2 separate regions of the Homo sapiens genome follow, and region 2 is linked to region 1. Evidence: promoter capture Hi-C in 16 types of primary human blood cells and fetal thymus (Javierre and others, 2016). All regions are on one chromosome and are shown on one strand. The core of a region is centred on a gene start or on the middle of the fragment in contact, and the rest is flanking DNA. Distances in the headings are between cores, read along the strand shown.

Evidence for each region. Contacts are between HindIII fragments. The CHiCAGO score rates a contact against its expected background, and 5 or more counts as called.
Region 2: a fragment that was not itself captured here is called in contact with the fragment with the promoter of FBXL14 in region 1 in 2 of 17 cell types (fetal thymus and total B cells); the score reaches 5.5 in fetal thymus.

Annotation. Positions count from the first base shown.
Region 1 is chr12:1,590,460-1,597,890 of GRCh38, forward strand. It overlaps FBXL14 (F-box and leucine rich repeat protein 14), which reads right to left and starts at 4,122. Exons shown (of 2, transcript NM_152441.3): 1 at 2,414-4,122. The coding sequence starts at 3,607. RefSeq lists enhancers at 2,076-2,679, 3,197-3,386, 4,757-4,826 and silencers at 2,597-2,646, 3,627-4,496. The HindIII fragment of the contact is 12,621 bases long and covers 1-7,431 here.
Region 2 is chr12:813,827-821,257 of GRCh38, forward strand. The region is part of intron 2 of WNK1 (WNK lysine deficient protein kinase 1); the gene reads left to right. Among named protein-coding and RNA genes, the nearest start is that of WNK1, 65 kb to the left of the region's middle. The HindIII fragment of the contact is 1,090 bases long and covers 2,089-3,178 here.

The DNA of each region.
Region 1 (7,431 bases), core at 2,872-5,371:
CCCAGACCAATGTGAAACCAGGAATATGAACCACTCCCCTGTTGGAGCACTCACACCCATAGGTCTCCACAGCCAAACCACAGGGTGTCAGATTATTTTGTTACTGTCTACCAAAGGGAACTCTTGCTGGAATTCTGGTATTTCATTAATCTGCCCCGATTTCAGTCTAAAAACCCTTGACAGAGTGGATCCAGCGGCCAGCCTCGGCTATTGGAAGTGCTAAAATGCAAATGTGCAAAATCCTGGCCAAGCTCCCCATCCCCCAGGAAAGTGCTTCCTTACAGCCGGGCCTGGAGGGGAATGTGAAAAAGAGGGCTTGAGCTGCCCTCCTCCTCTCCACCCGGACCCTCGCTCACACTGGGAGATTCAGTATGCATGACTGAGCCGGCAAGCACGCAAGGACAGCGCTCTTTTAACTTTTCTCAACAATGGCTTCAGTCCTTCCACCTTCACATCCTCCCCACACCCACTCTCAGGGTAAAAAAAATCCATCTTTCTTGCCCACGTCGTGAACCACTTTTCAACATCACCTCTAGATCTCATTTTCACCCAAAGAAAAACTGGCCACTCGGGGAAACTGTGACTTACATACAAATCTGGTTTTTTAAAAAGTTTCATTTTGTTCAATTTCTTTAAATTTCCACGTTGTTGAAAGTTTAAAGCCAAACATTATATAAATCTCCAGTCTAATCACATTTCTAGAAACAAAACATGTCAGTAGTAAACCTTATACAGAATAAAATTCTACCCATGAGTTGACTCACCCCCACATAGGATGCACCAAACTCCACCTTGCGTCCTCTTAGAGTATACAAACAACACCTCCTACCTTGGCATGTACCCAAGCACACAATGCCTTAAAAATAATTCGCAGATACAAGGCTGTTGTTTTTTTTTTTTTTTTCAAAAACATACTTCATATTTCCTCTTTTATTATATAAATATCAGTTTAACCTTTTACTGTAAGAATATAAACGTTTTAAGAGGATCTTTGTTATTATTTATACAAATTCACAAACAGTACAATTAATTGATAAAGGTCTCTGGGTTTCTTTAACTCCATGGTCTTGCATGTTGCTGTGGAGGGTTCTAAAGAAATAACAACAAAAATCCAACGAAAATATACATCCTACTCAGAAGTGATTTCTTTAAAGCCACAAGTCCCAACCCCCACCAAAAGAAAGAAAGTCATCTATTCCTCCATTTAGAAACGGAATTTTTTAAAACCCACAAACTCCCATTTTGTTAATAGAACAGAGATAAGATATGAGCTTCATCACAGCCCCAGGGGCTCTGCAGGCCAGCTCTGCTCCTGTTTCCCACAGGAAGCCGCACTGTGTGACCTTTTTGGGGGGAAACTTGGAAGAGGGTGAGGGTAGGGCAGAATTTGCATATATAATCATCATTTTCAAGACACAATCTGCATCTCCAACAAAAACAACGGTTCAACTCTCATTGCTCCCACATATTTGTGCTATAAATTAAGATTTAGAAATAGGTCCTCAAATCCCAATGAACAAGGAGAAAAAGGAAATTATAGCCAGAATGTGGAAGTGGGGCACACTGGACGGATGGAGGCTGGGAAGAAGCCAACACAAAAAGACGGACAAACCCAAGGGCATCTTTCCAGTCTAGGCACAAACATGTTTCAGTCTCAAAATATCTCTCTTGTAGAATTCCAGGGCTTCAGAAAAAAAGTAAACTAAAACGAGGTAGCCAGACATATATATGTATATATATATATATATAATTTATATATATATAATATATAGAATATATTCAGCAGAAAAAAGGACCATGATTTCAAATTTTTTCCAAAAAAAAATTTTTAAACAGGAAAGAAGATTAAGAACATGAAATGAGCATGAATAGCAGAGTACTGTAAGAGGAGGAGTGATGAGAAGAGACTGGGATTAGTTACAAAGTGGAAGGGTGAAAAGGCCTTTGTAGCTGGGTTTGCTTTTTATACATTTCAAAATAAAAACCAGATCACAGTATTCAAATGAAAGCTGAAGTGAAAGCAGACATTTTCCTCAACTCCCCAGGGTTGAAAAGACCAGTCACTCCCCACCCCCATTTCCAGTCACAGCAGTGGGGATACAGTAGCTGAATCAGTCCTCCACCCCCTGCAGGGGAGTGGGTGGGTAAGCAGCAGAGTCCATCTCTCCATCCGCGGGGAAAAGGAGCTGGGAGTAGGGTAGGGTAGGAACCCCAGCTGCAAAGAGAATGGGCTGGAAGCCGGGAGGGGGCTGGAGGAGGGAGGAGGAAACGAGCCTGAGGCTTCTGTCATAGCCCCATCTCATCCGCTGCAATGATCTGTGCGTAAGTGTGCGTGTGAGTGTGTGGGGGCGGTGGTAATGGGAGGATGAACAGGGCGGGACAAGGGGAGCTGGTGCTGCCGCCCTCACCTGACCTTCTCACTGTCCGTCATCTGCCAGAGTCCCAGGTTGAGTACCTTGAGGCACGGCAGCTGCGTGATGCGCTCCAGGCCGCGCTTGGTGATTCGGGTGCAGCCGTACAGGTCTATGCCGGTGAGTTGGCTCAGGTGCTCAGCGATCAGCTCCAGGCCCTTGTCCGTGATGCGCACACACTGTCCAATGTTGAGCGTGCGCAGCCCGTGCATCTGCCGCACCATGCGGTTGATGCCATCATCACTGATGTGGCAGGAGCAGAGGGAGAGAGACTTGAGGCCATCCAGCCCCTGGGCTATGTAAGCCAGACTCTGGTCTCCCACCTTGTCACAGAACGAAACATCCAGCCCCGAGAGGCGCAGGCTGCCCATGGCCAGATGCATGATGCCCGTGTCACTGATGTTGTCACAGGAGCGCAGGTTGAGGCTGCGCAGGCTGCCCATGTGCGACAGGTGCAGGAGGCCAGCGTCCGAGATTCCCCCACAGAAGCTGAGGTTGAGGAGCCTCAGGCCCGTCAGCCCTCGGGAGATGTGCTTTAGAGAAAGATCTGTGAGCTTCTGGCAGTCCTGTAGCGTGAGCTGCTCCAGGCCCAGGCAGCCCTCCGCCGCGCTGCGCGTCATGCCGGCCAGGTGCCCGATGCCCACATCCGAAAGGTGGCGGCAGCTGCGGAGGTTAAGGCTCTTGAGGCGCTGCAGACCCCAGGCGATGAGCAGAAGGCCAGTGTTGGTGATGTTGCTGCAACCTCCCAGCTCCAGCACCTCCAGGCCCTTGAGGTACTGGGCTATGCGGCCCAGGCTGCTGTCAGTGATCTGCTTGCAGAGGCTCAGGTTGAGAGCGCGCAGGGAGCCGATCTCCTGCACAAACGCGTGGCCCAGCCCGTTGTCGGTGAGGTTGTAGCAGCCGCTGAGGTTGAGGCTCTCGATGTTGGCCATGCCCTGGATCACGTAGCTGAGGCTGCGGCGGAGGCTCAGGATCTGCACCCGGCGGATGCCCCGGGCCTGCAGGCTGGGGAACAGCGACGGGTTGGCCCGGCGCAGGTGCAGCTTGGCCTCCACCCCCCGCCACACCGACTTGTGGTAGGCGGCGTCCCGCCAGGCGGTGCACACCTGCGCCGCGCGCCCCTTGTCCCGGACGTCCAGGTAGCCGAAGATCATGGCCAGCAGCTCCGGGAACAGGCATGAGATGTGGGTCTCCATCTTCCTCCTCCCCCCTCCGCGGCGCTGGGGGGAGGAGGCGCGGGCCCCGCCGCTCCGGCCTCGGGCAGGCGACGAGAGCGCTTCTCCCCAGCCGCCGCCGCCGCCGCCGCCGCCGCCTCGGGCCCAACGGCCGGCCCCTCCCCGCCTTCCGGCTCCGGCCGCCGCCGCCGCTCCTCCTCCTGGTCCGTCCGTCCTTCCTTCCTGCCGGCTGCGCCTCCGGCCCGGCCCTCCCCCGCCCCGGGCTCCGCACGGCGCTCACATCCCGGGCGGGGAAGGCGCCTCGCTCTCGCTCCCGGAGGCCGGCCGCCGCCGCCGCCTCGGCTCTACCCACGCCGCGCCCGGGCCGCGCCGCTCCGCCCGCGCCGCCGCGCCCACGCCCCCTGCCGCATCCTCCGCCTCCTGCCGCCGCCGCTGCTCCGCGGGCCGGCGGGCGGCGAGGGGGCCCCGGGGGCCGGGCGCACGGGCTCCGGGCGCGGAGGAGGCTTCCTGCTGCCTTTGTCTCTCGCCCGCTTTTCAAACCTCCCAGCCCCGGGCCGCCCGCACTCCGCCGCCCAGGCGGGGGGACCAGGAGGCCAATCCCGGCCGGCGGCGTGCGTTCCTTCTCCCCCGCCGTCCGCGGCCACTTGGGAGCTGCCGGCCCCCGCACCAAGGACGCCGCGGCCGTCCGGCCGGAGCGCGGCTCGGCGCAGACCCCGGGCGAGCAGGCGGGCCGTGCGTTTGGTAGCGCCCGGGCCGGCCCCGGCTCCGCCGCCCTGCAGCGCGTCCCCTCCGCCGCTCCCGCTCCCCCGCGCCCGCGCAATGGTACGGGCCTGCGCTGCCGGAACTGTGGAGCCGTTGCCCTGGAAACCGAGTTCGGCCTGGTCCCGTGGCCCCTGATTTTTAACCCTGTGGGCGCCACGGGGGAGCGGCAGCTGTCAGCAGAGCGCCTCCCCACCCGGCTTCTTTTCACCCGGTAGCCCGTTATTGAGCCGTTCCCTCTCTGGGCCACGCCCCAGCCCCGTTCCTTCTTTTTCTTTGCTGTTGAAGTCTGCGCAGCCCCTTCCCACAGTTTACCCCTGCAATTCGTTACCCTTATTTCACACCCCTCTCCCTTGATTATCCCTGCGAGAGCCGCCTCCTATAGCAGTGCTCAATAATCGTCACCCCAACTCTCCTTTTCTTACTGTCCCTAATGCCCCTTAACGCCTCATTATCACACCCCCTGCTCCCCCGGTTGGGGCTGTTTACTACGACGCCTTTCTCTCCAGTCTTGTGTCTTAAATTGGAGAGAAACTCGGCTGTACTCATCTTAAACAATGACCCCCTCCAGTCGGTGTTCTAGAAATTTCTAGAATTATCCATGACTACTTCCTTCTAGCATCTTCTGATGGTTTCCAGACACGCTGTGTGTGTTTCCCTCGGTACTTGATACATCAAAACTTCCCTCTACTTCTGAACGCTGCTGCGCCACCAATGCCCTCAGTCCGCTTTGCTTACAGGGGAACAGCCTTCCCCTAAGCCTTGTTTTAGGAGCTTTCTCCTTGTCATCAGCCTTAGACTATCAGTTGTATGGCTCAGTTGTACTGATAGTCAATATATTCGTATATGCTGAATCCAATTTACTTTTTGATTAAAATGGAATGACAGTTGAACTTGGTTTAAGACAATCCAGTCGTGTCTGTTGGTTTATCAACCGTTTTATGGAAGCAGGGCACAATTCCATTCTAGGATGTAGCCCCTGGGTCCTAAATGTCCGTACTAAGGATAGAATTTCAGAAGTTTCATTTTAACTACCCCCAAACCAAGAATTTTTGGATCAGAGAAAATGATCCTCTGTATTTTAATTTATGGATCCACACAACTAGATACAAGACCAGCGGATTTATCAGAAAGGGAAAATGGTTTCATTGATTCTTTGAGGACCTGAACAAGATTTGGAAGGGGTTCCATATTCAGTGTAGGAGAGTAACTTTTGCCCAAGCAACCACTATTAGACCAAATACATACAGATTCAGTAATAGGCATAATACACCTTTTACACCCCTACCACTCCTCTTTCCTAAATCAGGAAATGCAGAAGCAAAAATTCTCGCCAGCTTGTTACCTCACCCACATTACACGCAGTGTGGAGCCCATAGATTTTTATAACCTTCTTGAAAAAATAGACTGTACTGTTAGTCATCCAGTACATCCAGATGTACGGTGGCAGTAAGTGTCACGATTCTGGGGTATGCCTGGGCTTCACTCTTCTCCTGGAGGTTATCTAGGCTTTTATTCTTCTCAGTCACTTCTGCCTAAACGTTTACCTTAAATTCTGCGCAAAAGTCACTTTTTGATTGTTCTGTGCACCTAGATGTGTTTGGGTTGATGTCAAGGCCTTAATCCAAAGCACCTTAGTGTAACTTAATCCTGCTTAATAAAAAACAAAGTACCCCACACATTTGGGGGGAATTTTAGACAAGGGGCCTGACCAGCCTCGGACTAAGAAGGAGCCTAATGGTTTTCCTTCTCTAGAAAGGCCCTTGTTCTCAAATCTGAAGAGTCATTCAGAGGTATCTGGAAGCACTTTCTCTAGAAGTTGGCCATCTGGTCCTCGTTCTAACAACAGTTTTTCTTGAATTCTAGAATCTTATTAACACAAAGCCTTTTATTTAAGGCACTCAAGTATATATTATAAGGATTTTCAGCAATATGACTATTTTCACCTTCAATAAATAGGAAAATATAGCATCAAGAAGCATCACAGAAAAAGCATTCCCGGGGAAAAGGAACTAGGGCGTAGAATGAGCCCTATGCCGAATCTGAACACCTGGTGACTTTATGCTACTGAGGAAACGACTCTCCTTTCTGGGTCTCGGTTTCCTTGTGTAACACCAGGATGATTTGACTAGGTAATCTTCAGGGACCTTTCCAGTAGGAACACTCTGAGGCCAAGAGCCTAGCATACTGTCTCCTTAACCCATGGAACAATTACACATTGTTCCTAATGCAGGCTCCAGATATTAAGAATAACTTCGAATACAATAACTTCCTGGGAGCTTTGGTTTATGCTCAGACTTAGGACACAAAAATATATGAAGAATATGTATAGACAGGAGACTCTGATTGTCTGGCAAAGATGTATACCAATGTAGAAAATCCTGTGGCTTGCTCTTCATATTTTTAAAACTGGTTGAGATTTTTGTATATGATTTAACAAGTTGCAACCATAAGTTTTTTAACTAGCCTATTTAAAAGCAGAAATGATAGCCTTGTGTAGGGAGTCTCTCCAAAGCCTTACAAAGAATTTTTTTTTTAATTCTAGATTTTTCAGATGGAATGTGCTTTTCACCTGGGTAGGGTGGGAAAATTGAGAGGCCCAACCCAAAGATCAGGCTTACCTAAGGATTCATACTTTCTCCTTCAGAAGGGGAAGACCTGGCAGGAAAGATCAGAAGAGCTCTGTAGCTTTTAACTCCTCATTCAAGTATATATATATATATATATATATATATATATATATATATATATATATATATCTCCAAAAATAGTGGCCCAGAGTCTAGTTTATGGGTTGGGTCAGAGGAGTTAACATAGGCCGGGCAAAGTGGCTCATGCCTCTAATCCCAGCATTTTGGGAGGCCGAGGCGGGATGATCACTTGAGGCCAGGAGTTCGAGACCAGCCTGGCCAACATGGTGAAACCCCGTCTCTACTAAAAAAAATACGAAAATATTAGCCGGGCATGGCAGCACATGCCTGTAATCCCAGCTACTCGGGAGGCTGAGGCATGAGAATCGCATGAACCCAGGAGACAGAGGTTGCAGTGAGCTGGTACTGTGCCACTACACTCCAGCCTGGGCGACA
Region 2 (7,431 bases), core at 1,384-3,883, 780 kb before region 1:
GTATTACAAAAGCTGACCAAGAAGTATGAGAGAATTTGATTTTTTAAATTTCAGGTCTACCAGTTTCACTTTGGTTGTTCAGCCTAAGAAGGGAACAGTCCTTCCAACTGTTACTGTATTAGCATATTTCCTTGCCCACAAAGTCCTCTAGTATATAAAGTGATTTGATAATTATTTCTTGGTAAGTATTGAAATGAGAAGTTATGGCCGAGTGTGGTGGCTCATGCCTGTAATCCCAGCACTTTGGGAGGCCGGGGCAGGCGGATCACCTGAGGTTGGATCACCTGAGGTCAGGAGTTCGAGACCAGCCTGGCCAACGTGGTGAAACCCCGTCTCTACTAAAAGTACAAAAATTAGCCGGGCATGGTGGCGTGCACCTGTAACCCCAGCTACTTGGGAGGCTGAGGCAGGAGAATCGCTTGAACCTAGGAGGCGGAGGTTGCAGTGAGCTGAGATCACCTCACTTCATTCCAGCCTAGGTGAGACTCTGTCTCCAAAAAAAAAAAAAAAGAGTGGCTAAGGAATCAGAAATCAAATGTCAAGGTAGCCCTCTAGTGGTTAAAATGAGATTAAGGTTTATTGAGAAACTACCTATTTTTTTCATTTGTATTGTGCTTTGCTATATCCCTGCAACTTTTATATCAGATGCAGATTATATTGTGACAGTTATCACTTAAAAAATACTTTTAGTTCCATTTCCCATAACATCAGAAATTAATCCCCAAATAGCTAGATCTATCATTCCTTTCACAGAAATAGGTTTAATGCAGAAATTTCCCGTTACTTATTGTAAAGAGCTTTTGGTAAGTGTTGGAGTATGCCTTTGTAATCCCAGGTTTCTTAGAGCAGCAGTCCCCAACCTTTTTGGCATCAGGGATTGGTTTCATGGAAGACAGTTTTTCCATGAACTGGTGCGGGGGTGGGGCTGGGGAAGTTTGGAATGATTCAAGCACATTACATTTATTGTGCACTCTATTTCTATTATTATTACATTAAAATATATAATGAAATAGTTATACAACTCACCATAATGTAGAATCAGTGGGAGCCCTGAGCTTGTTTTCCTGCAACTCAACTGTCCCATCTGGGGGTGATGGGAGACAGGGCAGATCATCAGGCATTAGATTCTCATAACGAACGCTCAACCTAGATCCCTTGCATGCACAGTTCACAGTAGGGTTCATGGCCCTGTGAGAAATCTAATGCTGCTGACAGGAGCCAGAGCTCAGGTGGTAATGCGAGCAGTGAGGGAGCGGCTGTAAATACAGATGAAGCTTTGCTTGCTCGCCTGCCACTCACCTCCTGCTGTGTGGCCAGGTTCCTAAAAGGCCATGGACTGATATTGATCTGTGGCTCAGTGGTTGGGGACCCCTGGTATCTTAGAGGATCTGTTTTTACTCAGAGAAGAACCTGTAGTAAGTTACCTTGTATAAATTTTTTATTTGGTGAAATTGGATATTTTTAAATTATCACTGTGGCATATATTCTTTATTAATTGTTAAAGTTAATACTGCTGAGCTGATTAATTCCAGATCATTGGAATACAGTGTTACAGCACCTGGATATAGTCACTTGCATGTTTTCTGAAATGCTTACGGTTAGCATGTTGAAACATGAACAGATCATTTCTGTCCTGCAAATTCTAATTTCTTTATCCAACTTCCACTCTTGTTTATGGCAATACCTTTATCCTAGTTAGTCAGGCTTCTTGATACTCTCTTTTCTTCCATTAGAATGTGCTAACTAGCACTATATACCTAGTACTATGAACAAGTGCTAGATATCACATTCTACTGGAAGTGTCTAATACTGAATAATAAGTGTTTGAATGAATTAAGGAGAATTATGTGGTAATAATTATGTGTACATCTTGAGATTCTTTCCACTGGTTTGGATACTTACTTGGTTGTCAACAGTTTGTCTGGCATGCCTAAGATTACTCTAAAATACAATGGTTTACTTGTTTTAAAAACTATATTGAGGAGCTTTGGGTAACATAGTGGGGTAATAAGCCCCTGTGGAATGGCTGTCCCACACCAACAAACTGAAATGTGGAATATAATAAAAGTTTTTTCCAATACGTGTCTAAGCTTTAAGGAAAGAAAGGTTAACCTCCAGATAATAAGCAGAGATAACTCAAAGCCAAAACAGGAACTTATACTCTGGGATTTTAGACCACATATTGGTTGAGGAGTTGATGCTAGTTTTAATGTCCATGCAAGGACAGAAAGCCTTAGAACTAGGTAGAGAGGGGAGCTAGAACTTAGCCTGTGTCAAAAAACTGAACTATCCGTGAAAAGAGAGACCTCAGTGCTCTAGCCAGTGAAAGCTGCAAGGAATTTTACCTGTGTGCAGAAGACTGTGGATAAGAGGGGAGACCTATGAAAAATAGAAATTCACATCAAATGCTACCAGTGTTCTTAATTATTCTGTAAACTAATCTTTTCTTTTTCTTTTTTTGGAGACAGGGTCTCACTCGGTTGCCCAGGACAGAGTGCAGCAGCACAATCATAGCTCACTGCAGCCTCAAACTCCTGGGCTCAGGGAATCCTTCCACCTCAGCCTCCCCACTACCTGGGACTATAGTTGCTCACCACCATACCTGTCTAATAAAAAAACAATTTTTTTTTTTTTAGTAGAGACAGTGTCTATTTTGTTGCCCAGGCTGCTCTCAAACTCCTGAGCTCATCCTGATTTGGCCTCATCCCGATTTGACCTCCCAAACTGCTGGGATTACAAGCATGAGCCACGGTGCCCAGCCTGTTTGGTATTCTTCCATCTCATATGTAGATGGCGCTATAACATAAATTTGTACCATCTACTTGGTACAGGAATCCCAAACCGAAGAACATACATGATAATTGATCAGGAACGGAAAGAAAACTCCCGGGGACATTTTCACAGTTCCTTGGTCAGTGTCCAGAGGCAAAACTGTTTCCAAAGAAGATGACCTCACAATTAAATTACAAATCACACCAATGAAGGTGAATAGACACAACCAGAAAATAGCACTGCAACAATTAAGGATATCATGGACAAGTCTGAAAGTGATTACAAACAATTATTTACATAATGATGTCAGTAAAGATATTTGTAAGTGTATATGAAGTGTATAAAGAGAAAAGAAGGAATTGAAGGAAAAAGACACCAAAGAAAAAAAAGACAGGCATAATTTAAAAGCTTCTGAAGAACTTCTAGAAATAAGAACATTAAAATTCAAACATAAATGGTCTAACGGTTAAACAGCAGACTGAATTGAATTGACAGGAATATTAACTACGAAGAAATGAGCAACAGAACACACAAAAAAGACAGAAAATATTTAAAGAGGATGACATAGTAGTGAGAAGACCCAGATAGATTTAATTATCTAAAAGGGGTTTCCCTGTAGTCCTAGCTACTCTGGAGGCTGAGGCAGAGAATCACTTGAGCCCAGGAGGTGGAGGTTGCAATGAGCCGAGATCGTGCCTCTGCACTCCAGCCTGGGTGACAGAGCGAGACTCCATCTCAAAAATAAAAATGAAAAAGTAGAGAGAATGAGAAAAAGAAAAATTTCAGAATTTAAGAATTCTGATTGAGAATGTATACAGATTCCTAAGCAAGTAGATTGAAAACATTCATATTCATTTCTGGAAGAATGGATAACTAGGACCATTGGCAGCATTTGGAGAGGCAGATTGGGAAGGAATGGGAATTAATTCCAAAATGCGTGCTTTTTGGACCTTTCGAGTTTCTACCTTTGTTCTCTATGTATATTTACATTGAAACAGATAAAACACCCATAGCTGAAAAATAAGATGGGAATGTATGAGTCAGAAAATTTGGATTAAGGCCAGGCGTGGTAGTTCACACCTGTAATCCCAGCACTTTGAGAGGCTGAGGCGGATGGATCACCTGAGGTCAGGATCACCTGAGGTCAGTTCGAAACCAGCCTGTCCAACATGGTGAAACCCCATCTCTACTAAAAATACGAAAAATTAGCTGGGCATGATGGCGGGCGCCTGTAATCCCAGCTACCCGGGAGGCTGAGGCAAGAGAATCGCTTGACCCCGGAAGTGGAGGTTGCAGTGAGCCGAGATTGTGCCACTGCACTCTAGCCTGGGTGACAGAGTGAGACTCCATCTCAAAAAAAGAAAAAGAAAAAAAATTTGGATTAAAAGTTGAGATAAATTTAGATGTATTTTTTTAAATAGACATGAAATTCAAATATCATACAATTAACATTTTAGAAAGTACAATTCAGTGGCACTTAGTACATTCACAATGTTTTGTAAGTACCACATCTATCAAGTTACTCAACATTTTAATCACCTCAGAACACTCTGTGCCCATTAAGCAGTTACTCTGCATTTCCCTTCCTCCAGCCAGGCAGCGTATTTTTTCTTTAATTGCACATTATCTAAGTTCTTTTTCTTTTTACAATTAAAAAGAAATTTTCAGTTTCTGAGCTTCAGAGGCTTATGCCAACAGGAGGGTTTATTAAGTAGAAAGAGCATTAGACTTGCAGTAGAAGTTGTGACTGCTCCCACCGCTGCCTCTGACCAACTGTGATTTTGGGCAAATAGCTAACCTTATTTGGGCTTCAGTTCCCCATGTGTATGTAAAACAAGTGGTTGGACTGCCTGATCTCTGGGACCAGCCATTCGTGGATGGGATTTTTTTATTGTAAAAAACATAACAAAATTTACCATCTTAACCATTTTTAAGTGTATAGTTCAGTAGTGTTAATACAAACACATTTCTGTGCAATTTCTAGAATGCTTTTCATGTCACAAACTCTATGCCCGTGGAACAATTTCCCATTTCTCCCAACCCTCAGCTCCTGACAACTACCAACTTTTTACCATCTCTATGGATTTATCTAATCAGGATATGTCCTATAAATAGACTCAAAGTATGTTATGGATCCTTGTGTTTGGCGTCTTTCACTTAGCATGGTGTTTTCGAGGATCATCGTGATTGCACGCATCAGTACTTCATCCCCTTTTATGACTGAATAACATTCCATTGCATGGAAATATCACAGTTTGTTTATTTATCCATTGATGAACATTTGGGCTGTATCCACCTTTTGGCTATTATGAGTACTGCTGCTATGAATATTTGTGCAGAAGTATTTTTTTGAGTACCTGTTTTCATTTCTTTTGGCTGTATACTAGGAATGGAATTGCTGAGTCATGTGGAAATCTTTGTTTAACTTTTTGAGGAGGCATCCTACCGGGAGTGACATGATACCTCATTATGGATTACATTTGCATTTCCCTAATGATTAATAATGTGGAACATCTTTTCATATGCTTATTGGCTATTTGTGTATCTTTGGAGAAATGTTTATTCAAGTTCTTTGCTCATTTTTTATTGGATTGCTTGTTTTTTTGTTGATTTATTAGAGTTCTTTATATATTTTAGAAATTAGACCCTTGTCCAGATCCATGATATGCAGATATTTTCTCCTATAGGTTGCCTTTTTTGCTCCTTGATAATGTTCTATGATGTACAGATTGAGTATAGTATCTCTTATCCGAAATGCTTGGGACCAGAAGGGCTTTGAATTTTTTCAGATATTGGAACTTTGAATTATACTTACCAGTTAAGCCTCCCAAATCTGAACTCCAAAATGTTCAAATGAGCATTTTTGTTGTGTGTCATGTTGGTGCTCAAGTTCAGATTTTCTATTGGAGCATTTTGGATCTTGGATTTTCTGATTTGGATGCTCAAGCCTGTGCCAAGTTTTAAATTTTGATAAAATCCAATGTATCTGCTTTGTCTTTTGATGGTTGGGCTTTTGGTGTCATGTAAGAGTCCATTGTCATAAATAACCAAGGGCATACAGATGTATCCCTAAGTTTTCTTCTAAGAGTTCTATCAATTTAACTTTTCTATTTAGGTTATTGTTCCATTTTTAAGTTAACTTTTGTGTATGCCGTGAGGTAGGGTCTGATTTCATTCTTTTACATGTTGATGTCCAGTTATCCCAGCATCATTTGTTGAAGAGACTTTTACCTATTGAATGGTCTTGGTACTCTTCTCAAAAATTATTTAATCATATGTATAGGTTTATTTCTGGACTCTCAATTCTATTTCATTGGCCTACATGTCTGTTCTTATGCCAGTACCGCATTGCTCTGATTACTATAGTAATTTTTGTAAATTTTGAAAATTAGAAGTGACTTCTCCAATTTTGTTCTTCTTTTTCACTATTGTTTTTGACAGTTGGGGTCTTCTTGAAATTCCATGTGAATTTGAGGATTAGATTTCCATTTCTACAAGAAAAGGCTGTTGGAATTTTGACAGAAATTGTGTTGAATCTGTAGATCATTTTGTATAGTATCACCATCTTTAACTATATTGTCTTCTAATCCGTGAACACAGGGTGTCTGTCCATTTATTTATGTCTTTTTTAATTTCTTTCAGCAATGTTTTGTAGTTTCATTATACAAGTCTTTCACATCCTTGGTTAAATTTATTCCTAGATCCTTTATATGCTATTGCAAATGAAATTGTTTTCTTAATTTCCTTTTCAGATTGTTAATTGCTGGTATATATAAATACAACTGATTTTTGTGTGTCAGTCTTGTACTTTTGTAACTTTACTGAATTCTTGTATTAGCTCATCTGTGTGTGTGTTCATTCTTTGGGGTTTTTTTTTTTTTTTTTTTTTTTTAAACAGATGGGGTTTCACTCTGTCACCGAGGCTGGAGTGCAGTGGTGCAGTCATAGCTCACTACAGACTTGAACTCTAGGCTTAAAGGATCCTCCCACCTCAGCCTCCTGAGTAGCTGGGACTCCAGGTGTGTACCACCATGCCTGGCTAATTTTTAAATTTTTCATAAAGATAGGGTCTCAATATATTGCTTATGGTAGTCACAAATTCCTGGCCTCAAGTGATCTCCCTTGCCTCTGGCTCCCAAAGTGCTGAGATTACAGGTGTGTGCCACCACACCTAGCCATTCTTTGGGATTTTTATATATTGGATCAAGTCATATGTGAATAGATAGTTCTTTCAGATTTGAATGCCTTTATTTCTTTTTCTTGTCTAACTGTTTTGGCTAGAGCTTGAATTATGATTAGCATTGATTATCCTTGTCATATTACTGATTTTAAGGAGAAAGCTTTTGGTCTTTCACCATTGAGTATATGTTAGCTGTGAGTTTTTCATAAATGTTCTTTATCATGTTGAGGAAGTTCTCTGCTATTCCTATCCTAGTTTCTTGAGTTTTTTTTTTTTTTTTTTTTTTTTTGGAAAGGTGTTAGATTTTGTCAAATGCTCTTCTGCATCAAGTTAGATAATCATGAAACCACTTCGTTCTATTAGTGTGATATATTATACTGATTAATTTTCTTATGTTGAATCACCCTTGCATTTCATAGATAAATAGTGTATAATCCTTTTACTATGCAGTTGGGTTTGGCTTGCCAATATTTTGTTGA